Regions from separate parts of the Homo sapiens genome. Here region 1 is linked to region 2. Evidence: promoter capture Hi-C in 16 types of primary human blood cells and fetal thymus (Javierre and others, 2016). All regions are on one chromosome and are shown on one strand. The core of a region is centred on a gene start or on the middle of the fragment in contact, and the rest is flanking DNA. Distances in the headings are between cores, read along the strand shown. Region 1 has its middle 35 kb from the start of MIR7702. Region 2 holds the start of LPAR1 (lysophosphatidic acid receptor 1).

Region 1 (6,379 bases), core at 1,420-3,919, 200 kb after region 2:
TTTTGCTTCTTAATCTCACACATCAAAAAATCTTTCTCTAATTCAATTGAGTTGGCCAGTTCCAAGTCCTAAAAAATAGTGCTAAATATCTGGAATTCAGGACTGGCTGCTGTGGCTCACACCTGTAATCGCAGCACTCTAGGAGGCCGAGACAGAACTTGAGGCCAGGAGTTGGAACTGCAGTGAGCTATGATCACACCACTGCACTCACACCACTGTTTTGTTGATTAGGTTAATATTCGTCCCTTAAACCATCATTTAGCAAATGAACACTGAAGTAGAATATCCACCAAAGGCAAAACATAAAAATTAAAAAAAAATTAAAAAAAGAGATCCCTTAAACGAGGGAGGAAGTTATGAAGTGATGAGAAAGAGCTGAGGGAATTTGTTGACTGGCCCAGCCCTCAGCTAGATTCAATCCAGTCCACCTGTTGAATGCCAAGAAAAATAAGTGCATTTTGCAGAGGCTGAGATCTCCAGCTCTCTCCTCTGACCTCCCTCCTTTCTGACCCTTTGACCTCCCCTGCAGGAGCCGCTCTGAGCAACTGTGCCCAGCACCTGGGAGGCGAAAGAACCCTGCAGAAGCCAACAAATCAACATTCCACCAGGAATTTTGTGCTGGATAATTCAACCAATTCAGCTGTTATCCTGGCCACACCCTCGGTCTGGGCTTCCATCCAAACTTCGTCCTTCTTCACTGTTGAAAACCAGAAGCCACAGCCCCCAGCCCTGTCTTCTAGCTCCCCACCCAGGCCCCCCTCTCTCTCTCTGAGCCTCTCCACTGTGCCTGGTAAAACCCCAATTCTATAAGGAACAAACTTCCTTTGGTCTACAAATATTTCCTTGAGAATTCCCCCAACATTAATAAAAAAATCTTCCGGCCAGGCGCTGTGGCTCACACCTGTAATTCCAGCGCTTTGAAAGGCCAAGTGGGGAGGATCATTTGAGCCCCAACAGTTCAAGACCAGCCTCGGCAACATAGTGAGACCCTGTCTCTACAAAAAATACAAAAATTAGCCAAGTATGGTGGTGCATGCCTGTGATCCCAGTTCCTTGGAAGGCTGAGTGGGGAGAGTCACTTGAGCCTGTGAGGTCAAGCCTGCAGTAAGAGGAGATCGCACCACAGCACTTCAGCCTGGGCAACAGAGTGAGACCCTATCAGGGAAAATAGAAATGAACTACTTAGCTTTCTTCCAAAACCTGCAATTCATGAGGAATAATCATCCTCTTAATCAGCAGGGCACCAACATTTGGAGTGAACACGACCTTCTCCCATTTGCCTTCCACATACCATCTGTTGCCAGACCTTGACAATTCTAACTCTAGGGACTTTGTGCAAGGGAATGGGGCCTAAATGGGCCCATGCTCAATTATTAATCATTCTAAAATTTTTTTTAGTTTGTATTATGAAAAGTTTCAAACATACATTATATAGAGACTAGCAAAGCAAAAATCCCAAGTACCCCCCAGCTCTTCTCAACATTTTACAATACTGTATTTGATTCCATTTCCTTTCAGAATTTTTTTAAAATAAACACAAAAAGGTTGAATGACTCTCCCCAGGTCCACATCACATACTCCACACAGTGTCTAAGACACAGAACATAAAAAGAATTATTTGCTCAATAGTACTTGGTATAAATGTATGAGCCTCCCTGAGTCCCAATCCCTTCTTTCCCTATGTCCTCCTTTTTGTATGTATTTCTATCTGCATTAGTTGTCTCTCTCAACATTTTTTTCTTTATACACCTGTGCATGTCCATCTATTTCCCTTTTATTATCTTTCTCTCCATAAGATTTCTTTCCTTTAATAACTACAGCCATGTGTCGCTTACCCATGAAGATATGTTCAGAGAAATGTGTTGCTAGGCACCGATGAAAGTTGTGTGGACATCATCAAGTGTACTCCCACAAACCTAGATGGCATAGCCCACTACACATATGGGATATATGGTAGAGTCTTTTGCTCCTAGGCTACAAACCTGTACAGCATGTTACTGTAATGAACACTGTAAGCGTTTGTAACACAATGGTATTTGTGCATTTAAACTTCTGTAAACGTAGAAGAAATACAACAAAAAATAGATGGTATAAATGATTTAAAATGGTTTGTCTAGGGTACTTACCATGAATAAAGCTCGCAGGGCTGGAAGTTGCTCTGGGTGACTGAGTGAGTGAATGTGAGGGCTCAGGACGTTACTGCACACTGCTGCAGACTTTATGAACATTGTACCCTTAGGCTATATTACATTTATTTAATTTTTTTCTTCAATAATTACCCTTAGCTTACTGTAACATTTTTTACTTTAAGCTTTTTAATATTTTTCAATTCTTGTAATAACACAGCTTAAAACACTTTGTATAGTTGTACAAAAATATTTCTTTGTTCTATAAGCTTTCTTCTATTTTTAACTTTTTTTTTTAACTGTTAAAACTTTTTTCATAACTACCAAGACACAAATACAAACATTAGCCTAGGCATACATGTTAAGATGGCTACAATGTCACTAGGCAATAGGGATTTTCAGTTCTGTTATAATCTTATGGGACCACCATAGTATACATGGACCATCATTAACCACAACGTCATGCAGCACATGACTGCATTTCATAAGCACCTGCTATGTGCCAGATGCTGTTCTAGACCCCTAAGAAACATATCTGTCAACCTTTTTCTCTATGTAGCTTTCTCTTTGCTGATACCTCCTATTTTCTGACCATCTTTCAATCTGAACTTATTTCCCTTTTTCTTTTATCATCTCCACCCCTTCCCACACTTCCCTGTCTAAACTGACTATAAAAGAAAATAGAAGCATCATATCATGTATAATTGTGCTTTTGCATGAGAACGAGTTCTCCATAGCTTAACTTTTAAAAGCAGGTTAACGAATAATTTCCTATTGGGTAATATTCAGATTTTTGACCCAGCTCTCAAGTCTGAAAAGAAGCTTTTATTTCTCACCAGGTACCCTGGATCCCGAGCATACCTGAATTGTCTCCATCCTACAAATTTACTTCCAGGCTTTTTCTTACGCTGTTTCTTGTTAGATGGGATGTTCTCAAACTGGATGTGTCAAGATTCTTCAGAGACTTGGCTGCCTCTGTCCCCACTTTCTCACCCATGTCACCAGCATTTAGCAAATGCCTAGTGCACAGAAAGTGCTCAAAAAATGTTTATTGTATTTTTTAAAACATAATAAAAACTAAGTTACTCATTACTTGGTGCACCACGTTTTCTGTTAGGTGATAGACCACCATAGAAATAAATCCAACTCAAATTGAAAGGCTAAAATGGAAAAAGAGGAGGTAAAAAGAATAGACAAGGAAGAATTCACAACAATTGTCACCCTGAGAAGGAATGAGAAATTCTGAGATCCTTCCTTGTCAGGGGGTTAAAGAACTGTCAGAGATGGGGTAGAAGCAACTGCAAATAGTTGGCCTCCTTATTAATCCTTCAGGGGAAGAAAACCTGTTCTAAGTACAAGGACTAACAGCTGCAGTTCTACCAGCACATTCCACAGAAGTTACAAGGAAACTGATGAGAATTCAAATACTCTGTGATAACAGTGGGACGAAGCTTCCAAAGGAAAACACTAGGAAAAAAGATTTGCAGACTTTTCTCCCTTAGAAAAGTGAAGAATTAAACCGCATGTATCTGGAAGACCCCAGTGAACCAGGGGTTAAAGAAGATGGTATTAAATGCCCATATGAAGGTTTACACAAAGGGGCATAGCAGCAATGTTAAATAACAAAGAAGTTAAAAATAATCATAGCTACCAACAATATACTGTGTTTTTCAAAACAGCTAGATGAGAGGATTTGAGATGTTTCCAACATATAGAAATGATAAATACTTCAAGTGATGGATACTCTGAATATCGTGACTTAATCATTACTCATTCTACACATGTAATGAAACATCATCTGTATGCCCTAAATATGTACAAATGTTATGTATCAAATAATAATAATTTCCTCTCTCTAGACCCCTCCCAGGTCCAAACTGGTGTACAACACTTCAGTGAGCTAATTTATCTACACCAAGAGATAAAGTCCTTGATGTTCAACACCCTTAGGGATTTAGTAATTAAGCTCATTTAGAAGATAAGTACTAGCTGTCTGAGAAGAAAGGCATTCCTGGCAAAGCAAGGTTGTAGACTCCTGGAGCAGGTGGATCTTCATGAGGCCCAAATAGACCACATTCTTAGAAAATGACCGTATTTGCAACACCTGCCTGCAATGAAATCACCTTGGGTGCTTGTTAAAAATTCAGATTTCAGAATTCAGAAATTTAGATTTCTGGATCCCAACTATTTTCTTTTAATTGAAGGTTTACATACAAAGGAATAGCTCAGTGTTAAATAACTAGGAATTTTTTTAAAAACAAACAAACAAAACAAAACAACTCTCCTGTTTTAGGCATTATCCAAATCCAAACTGATTTGCAACACTTTTATGAGAGCTAAGGTAAGGGCTCCTGGGGGTCAAACGCATTTCAGCAAATCTTCCTGATGAAGCAGAGGCTTAGAGGTCCAGAGACCACACTGCATGTATCAGCCACAAACCTCTCATGGGGCCAAAAGCTACCTGTTCTGAGGTTTCCTGTTCTGGGAACATCCTCCCTTGACCACAGGCCTGAGAAACTGCAGGACAGAAACTCCTCCTATATGCTTCAGAGCCTCCTTTTCTTTGCTCTTGCATAGACCTGCACACTGGGCTTGTACTTCTAACAGCTGCTGACATTTATCACATTATCCTATTTAATTTTCTCTTTCAGCAGATTTATGTACTTTATTTTATTGTTTCATTATTCTATGCTCTTGCTAATGCTTTTCTTGCTAAGTGTGTGTGTGTGTGTATATATATACACACACACACACACACACACACACACACACACACATATATTTATTTATTTTTTGAGATGGAGTTTCGCTCTTGTTGCCCAGGCTGGAGTGCAATGGCTTGATCTTGGCTAACTGCCACCTCTGCCTCCTGGGTTCAAGTGATTCTCCAGCCTCAGCCTCCCTAGTAGCTGGGATTACAGGCACCCGCCACCACGCCCAGCTAATTTTGTGTATTTTTAGTAGACACAGCGTTGCACTATGTTGGCCAGACTGGTCTCAAACCCCTGACCTCAGGTGATCCACCTGCCTCGGCCTCCCAAAGTGCTGGGATTACAGGTGTGAGCCACTGTGCCTGGCCGCTAGGTATATTTTTAAAATAATTCATCATCTTGCTTTTTGAAATTTAGTGATAAAGCAAGGATAGCAAAATGTTAATTGTAACATCTAGGTGGTTTGTTTGTTTGTTTATTGGGAGAGACAAGGTCTCACTATCTTCCCCAGGCTGGTCTCCAACTCCTGGGCTCGAGCAATCCTCCCTTCTCTATCTCCCAAAGCGCTGGGATTATAGGCATGAGCCACCACACCAGGCCTGGCAAATTTATTTTTAATTCCTGTGTTCACCATACAGTTGTTAAACTTTCTGTATGTTTGAAGCTTCTTATAATAAAATATTGGGAGTAGGGGATTCCAAAAGTATGAAAAGGGATAGAGTGAAAAGTAAACTCCACTCCTTCTTTCACTTACTTAAGTCTGGTTCTCAGAAGATAATCACTATTAACAGTTTCTTCTGTATCCTCCCAGAAGTTGTCTGTACTTATATAAGCACATATTTTTTTCTACCCAATGGCATATATCACATAACATTAAGTGCATAAGAGCAAACCTGAAACTTGCTTTCAGTTATCAACACATCAGGAAAGTCTTTTCAAATCAGTATGTAGTATACAGAAATCAGTCTCATTTTTTAGTTATTATATGAAATTTCATTTTATGAAATACAATTGGCTGTCTGTTTCCTTGTGTTCTGCACCCATGGATTCAACCAATTTTGGATCAAAAATTTTTCAGGGAAAAGAATGGATTGTACCTGTAGTGAATATGTGCAGACTTTTTTTCTTCATCACTATTCCCTAAATAATACAACTATTTACACAGCATTTACATTGTATTGGGTATTACAAGTAATCTAAAGGTGATTTAAAGCATACAGGACGATGTGTGTGGGTTGTGTGCAAATACTACACCATTTTATATAAAGGACTTGAATTTTCTTGGATTTTGGTATCCTCAAGAGGTCCAAGAACTGATCCCCCACGGGCACCGAGGGATGATTGTACATTATTCAATCAGTGCCATGTTGAGACAGACTATGCAAGTTGTTTCTAGTTAGTTTTGCTGACACTTACGTATGCACAAATGTTACAGTCAACATCCTTATACTACTATCTTTTTATATTTATCCAATTTTTTAAATTATACTTTAGGTTCTAGGGTACATGTGCACAACGTGCAGGTTTTTACATAGGTATACA
Region 2 (6,148 bases), core at 995-3,494:
GTCAAGTGATGCCTAGTAGAAGTCAGACTGCAAGGATCACCTTGACCTCACCCTAGTGCATTAGCTAAGCAAACTCACAAGCTTTAAATAATAAAGGTAACAAGAGATTGATCTGAGGTGGGGGAAGTATTATTGAGTCCCTTGAGGAAAGGAAAAAAAAAAAAAAAAGAGGAAATGAGCTCCCAGCTCAAGAATTTTTCTCCTCCAAGCATCCTCTGTTGCTTGTTTTCTTCCATCTTCCTGGCCCTCTGGACCTCTCACTTCCCCCTCCTACCTTTTCCTACTGCTCTAACACAATAAGATAACCTCCCACCGGTTTCTCGCTATTTGGGAAGCTGGAAGGAACAGCAACGATCACCAACCCCTTCCATTTTCCGGATGGGGAGACGGAGACCAGGATCTGAGCTGACCCGACTGGCTGAGGTCGCGCCGCTAGGGGACGTGGTGTACCTTGCGGGCTCGGATGATGACAACCCAGCCTTCCCTCCTCGCTCCTCGCCCGTGCCTTCCTGCCTCAAGCTACCTCCTTCTCTTGCCACTTGGTGTTTTTATCCTCAAATCAGACAAGTATCAAGAAAAAAATGCAACCTTAATATACTTACAATGCTGATTATTATTCATAATTTTGCATTTGGGGCAATTATACTCGCTCCTACTGGGATATGGAAATCAAGGGCAGAAAGAACTAGGTGACATTCTACCTCCCTGTGTATTTTAATGATGTTTAGTTTGGTTCAAATAACCATACCTCTAAAATACACCCTTTTTCCTTGGGACCCACTCTTCTATCCGGCAAGGGAATAACTTCTTAAAAAACTTCGCATTTTCCAAGTGTACAGTCTCCCCTTAACCAGAACTGCAGACTCTGAATCACAGACCTCTGGCTTACCAATTATGCTTAGCTGAGCAAACACACTTATGCAAATACGTGAAAAACAAACTGTTAGAGCCTGAAGGAATAGAGGATTTCGCTGTGATCATCAATATGTGATCATCACATTTTCAATATTTATGTTTACCAATATCTATCTAACCCCATAGGAAACGACGCGTCCATAGTGAAACAAGCCAGCACCCACATTTATGAAAAAATCCACGGATTTCAACAAAAATGAAGAGAGGAGAGCAGAAGCGGAGAGCCACAACCTCAGGCCCCAGACAGCAGGCAGCAGCAAGTCCTGAATGCCTTCACTCTTAACATTGCAAAGACCAAATGGCAGCAAAGAAAAACAAGAATAAACTTTAAATCCATTCACCACAAAGGAGTCCTACGCAAGTCAAAGGAGCCGTCGATTTCAAAACCATCAACTTTCAAAGCCAGGTCCCTCCCTTGCCTTACAACCTCCTGTTACTTGTTAAGCACGTTTGTTAGGCGGCTGGACAGAAACTTAGTTAAAAGTCCTCAGCCCGGTGGTGGGGGACAACCGAGTCGTCAGTGGGAAGCGAGAGGTGCGGAGCCCCAGGGGCGCAGGGACCCCTCGGAGGTGCAAGTCCAGCGGGACGAGGTTTTGGGAGAATTTCGAGGGCCCCTCGCAAGCCCTCCCGCGCACCCACCCCGACCCAGGTAACCGGAGGCCACCTACGTGTCACTGGGCGGGCCCCGGGGCGCACTGACCTGGCGCGGGACAGGAGGGCCGGCGGCCCGGGCGGCTGCGGCAACTTCCCTCCAGGGGCTCGGTCCGCCGCTGGGTGCGGGAGGCCAGGGGAGCCTCGCCTCCTGCAGGCCGGCTCGCAAGAACGCACGGCCACCCACCCGCGCCGCGGCCCACAGCGCGCACCCACACTCTCACTGGCACTCGCACGCGCGCCCCCAACCACAAAGCCCGTCCGCGGCGGGACAGTGTGAGCCCAGCGCGCCGTGTGGCGGGCCGAGCAGTCGCCGCGGCCTCTGGCTTCGCGCCCAGGGGGCGCCGTCCCCACACGCCGCGCCGGCCCCCTTACCTGCGCTCGCTGCCGCCGCGCGTCCCTCTCCTGCCGCCCCCGGGCTGGCTTCAGGCCGCGCGCCCAGTCCCGGCGGCCCCCGCCCCACCGCCAGCCGAGCCCGGCCCTCCGCCCGCCCCTCGGCAGTCGCCCAGAGCGGGGCCGCCCCCTGCGCCCACCCCGCCGGGGTCCCGTGCTCGGCCGGGCGGCGGGGAGGGCTCCGCGGCTCCGGGCCCTGGCCGCCCCAGATCCGGCCCGCGCTCCGCAGCGGGGCTGGAGACGGAGTCGCCACTCAGGGAGCGTCAGCCGCCAGTCGGCCCCTACTGCCCGGCTTTGGCGCGCTGGCAGGAGGAGGGGGCGCAGAGGGAGGGCCAGAGGAGCAGCGCCGACGCCAGCCTCCTCTCTTCCTCCGCCTTCCTTCTTTTCTGCTTGTTCCACGTAGCACAAGTCAGCAACACCCGAACCCCCAGAGTCCGCCCTCCCCGCTCCCAAGCTGGACCCCTTACCTGGTGTGGCGCCCCCAGCGCCCCTGACCTCTGCGCCCCCTCCTCCATTCATTGGCTCGACAGCCCACGGTGGTGGCAGGGCCGGGGCTGGGGGGTGGCCTTAGCCTCCCATTCATTATCTCAGCAGCCTCCCCCGCCCCGCCCCCGAGTCGACACACCCGCAGCGGGAGACCCGTGGCCGCCAGCTCGGGTCCCACCCCCGCCCCTCCTGCGCTTACCCCAGCGCCGGACAGCTGGCAGGACTCCGGTGGACGCCCCGGCACGGGGCATTTTCACGTTGTCGCTCTCCTCTTCCCACTCGAAAAGCTCTGGAAAACATCGCGGGGCCCGCAAAACCCCGGAAATGTGGCCTCTCTTTCGTGGCTCACTTTCTAAACTTTCCAGAAGGCGCAAAGTTTCTCCCAGCGCCGCCCTGCACTGGAGGCTGCGAAGAACGCAGAAGCGGCTTTGCTGCTAGGAAGGTGCATACGTTTCTAGTTCTGATTTTTCACTTCACTGGATCTGTAAACGAAAGCAAGTGTGTCTGCTCCCCTAGTTCTCCATATCCACGATTATAAATTTCTCTTCCGCTTTCCCAGTGTAGCTTTGCAAGTGTAAACTATCAATTTTAGTGAGAGTAATTAAGGGCGGGGACTGCACACCTGGAGGTGTGGGTGGGAGCGGCGCGGGACTAAGGCCTAGGGAACATTCTCAGGAGAGTGGCAGCCACAGGGATTCGCCCAGGTCTTATAACACACCCACTCGATGGGGTCTCCCTAGCCACGCCACCTCACAACACCCATCTCCCACTTCTGGCTTCCCAGGATTTCCGGAGTGATCACAATTATCGGCCTCTCGCTCCACAGCTAAGGCCACCGCATATCAAAAATAGCAGCGTGTGAGTAAAAGTTTCATGAGCCCTCGCCTTGAAATGGCACAGAGGACACAGCACACCAGCAGTAAGGCATGGGGACTCGGCAGGACTGATCTGATTGAGAGAAACGCAGGACAGCGAGGCGGGGCTATGTTGGTGGTGGCCACCAGGTAACCGTGGGCTTTGCAGAAGAGAAAGGTCACTGCAAACCGTAGCTGGACGGAAACTTTTCAAGCCTCAAGTGAGTTATGCTGTGACGGGACCATGACCATCTCCCACCGGTGACTGCTTAGAACCTTGACCAAGCTCGTGTGGTTTTCACAGGATGCTCAGGGCTGAGTCCTGGCTGTAAATAATTTACTATCTAAAGCTGTTTCCTTTTAAAAACAATGGTTCTAATCTTTTTTTTAAAAAAAATCATTCAAATCTTTTTTAAAAATCCACTTTAAATAACTTTGCTTTCTATACCTTTCCTACGAATATATGATTTATTTTATAACCTACTATGTGAAAAAATTGAAATTTTAGTACATGCACAGTGCTAATATGTTCATGCACAATGCTACTTATGTTTGTGTACGGCATGCAGAAATGTGTATAGATATGTATACCCATGAATACAAACCACTCCCTTATCTCACAAATAATCATAGGGGTTGATACCAAACTATAAGAAATATTATATTGGGATGAATAGGCAAATGTTCACTATAAAATCTCAGTATCATAAAAAGTATATATTGGTAAGAAAAAAATATACTCGAAAGAGGTTTCCATATATTTTTAACCATAGCTCTACTCAAGTCAAAAAATCACTTATTAGCTAATTTTCCCGTCTCTTTCTTCCTATACACTGTACTTACTATCAGATTTCTTAACACCAATACTTCTATATCTAATATAAAGACATTTTAAAATTAATTATTTCCATGTTTAGCCTTTCCCCATAAATCAAAGGTAAAGTAAAAGGAGTTTCTTACCTACCACTCAACTTGAATATTTTTAATATGTTGATTTTGTCTCTTACCTTCTTAAGGAATACAGTTGCTTCTGTTTTGACTATCTTAACTACTCTGTGGCCCCTTCTAACATCAAATTGGGAGGCCTGTCCGTACAAGACATGTGTATTCAACAGTAAGTTATTTGCTATAAAACACTTCATTTCCTCTTTATTTGGTCTGCTGTGGCCTGAAATGAAATATAGAACAAACTGAAAGGTCTGCCTGGACAGACCTGTCTTCCTGACAAGCGTGGACCTGTCTAAATGAGACAGCTTCTGCAGCCAGCTTTAGATCGATAACTCTAAAATTAAATGTAGGTATGTACATCCAGTAGAAAAGGACAGAGAAAATGAAATACAATACAGAATTCAGTTCAGCATCTAGATTAATCCATAAAACCTAGCTCATTATGTTCCAAATGAGCTACTTTTCTCATCTGTAAAATGGAATAATGGTACCAGTGCAGTCTTTTATATGGTTCCAAGTTGTCTTTTATCAAAGTAAAATAATATATTTGGGTGGGCTTCTGAAGACACTAACATTGATGATGAGGTTTCAACAGGAACAAAGAATACCTTGATAAATTTTCTTGAATGTTTTCTCCTGTCTGTAGTCCTCTTGTCATTCAGACATTCCCTTTCTTGGAGAGTCATCCTGATGCTTTCTGTCCTAACCTTTCTCTCCTCCCCTCTGCCAAGCAGTATTTCTTTAGATTTGTTTCTTCAAATGACTTCAGCAGAGGTAAAGACCCAAAGACAGCTGGCGCTGTCAAACATGACAAAAAATATTCTTAGCCACAGTGGCTCATGCTTGTAATCCCAGCATTTTGGGAGGCTGAGGCGAGAGGAGCGCTTGAGCCCAGGAGTTCGAAGCTGCAGTGAGCTGCCATTGTGCCACTGCACTCCAGCCTGGGCAACAGCCAGGCCCTGTCTCTTAAAAAGTTTTAAAATTTTTAAATATATATGTATGTTCAGCAAAATGAAGCCAGGCATGGTGGCTCACACCTGTAATCCCAGCACCTTGGGAGGCCAAGGTGGGCAGATCGCTTGAGGCCAAGAGTTTGAGACCAGCCTGGCCAACATGTCTGTCTCTACTAAAACCCTGTCTCTACTAAAAATATAAAAATTAGCCGGCATGGTGGTGCATGCCTGTAGTCCCAGCTGTTGGGAGGCTGAGGCATAAGAATCTCTTGAACTTGGGAGAGAGAGGTTGCAGTGAGCCAAGATTGCACCACTGCACTCCAGCCTGGGCAACAGAACAAGACTGTGTCTCAGAAAAAGTTCAGCAAAATGAAACATTGTGATGGATATTTCAAGTTCAGGTTTTACATTAATATCTGGAAGGACACCATAGACTTTGTCAGACTATTGATATAAGCTAGTGATCCAAGGACTATAATTTGAGAAGCATTTCGGGTGGAAAAATTGGCTGTCACTGCCTTTGGCACTATTATTTGTTCAAAAGGTTCCCCAGTCATGGCACACTCATGGAAGAGTTCTCTCTTCCTCCCTCTGTTCGCTTCCCTCTGGCAAAAAGCTTTTGAAATTTTCTGTTCGAGAGTAATCAAAACTATCAGCAAAACGATCTGTTGGAAACTTTCCCTCCAGTCTATTAAGGTAGAGACTGATTCAAAGACAGTATTTTGGTGAAACAATACCCTGAGAGAACTCAGCCTTTTCCGGAAAGTTTTGCAGATGATGCCTCCAGGCATAGTTTTCTTCCTCCTTGAAATGGGGTATTTGTGCCTCTCCAGTGTTTTTCCCCTTGGCTAGGGGGGAAAAAAAAGCATTCTCCTTAGGAAACCTTTCTATTTTAAAAGTCCAGCGGCAAAGGTGGGTGGGGCAGCCCAATTTAGTAAAAAGTAATAA

The links. The method cuts DNA at HindIII sites, captures the fragments that hold promoters and counts their contacts. A CHiCAGO score of 5 or more calls a contact.
Region 1: a contact is called between a fragment that was not itself captured here and the fragment with the promoter of LPAR1 in region 2, in 4 of 17 cell types (monocytes, M2 macrophages, M0 macrophages and 1 more). The highest score is 9.6, in monocytes.

Annotation. Positions count from the first base shown.
Region 1 is chr9:111,233,043-111,239,421 of GRCh38, forward strand. No RefSeq gene overlaps it. Among named protein-coding and RNA genes, the nearest start is that of MIR7702, 35 kb to the right of the region's middle. The HindIII fragment of the contact is 553 bases long and covers 2,394-2,946 here.
Region 2 is chr9:111,036,226-111,042,373 of GRCh38, forward strand. LPAR1 (lysophosphatidic acid receptor 1) reads right to left here and starts at 2,245. Exons shown (of 6, transcript NM_001351411.2): 1 at 1,942-2,245. LOC124902248 (a long non-coding RNA gene) reads left to right here and starts at 703. Exons shown (of 2, transcript XR_007061732.1): 1 at 703-1,564; 2 at 3,230-6,148. RefSeq lists a silencer at 1,675-2,014. The HindIII fragment of the contact is 5,735 bases long and covers 80-5,814 here.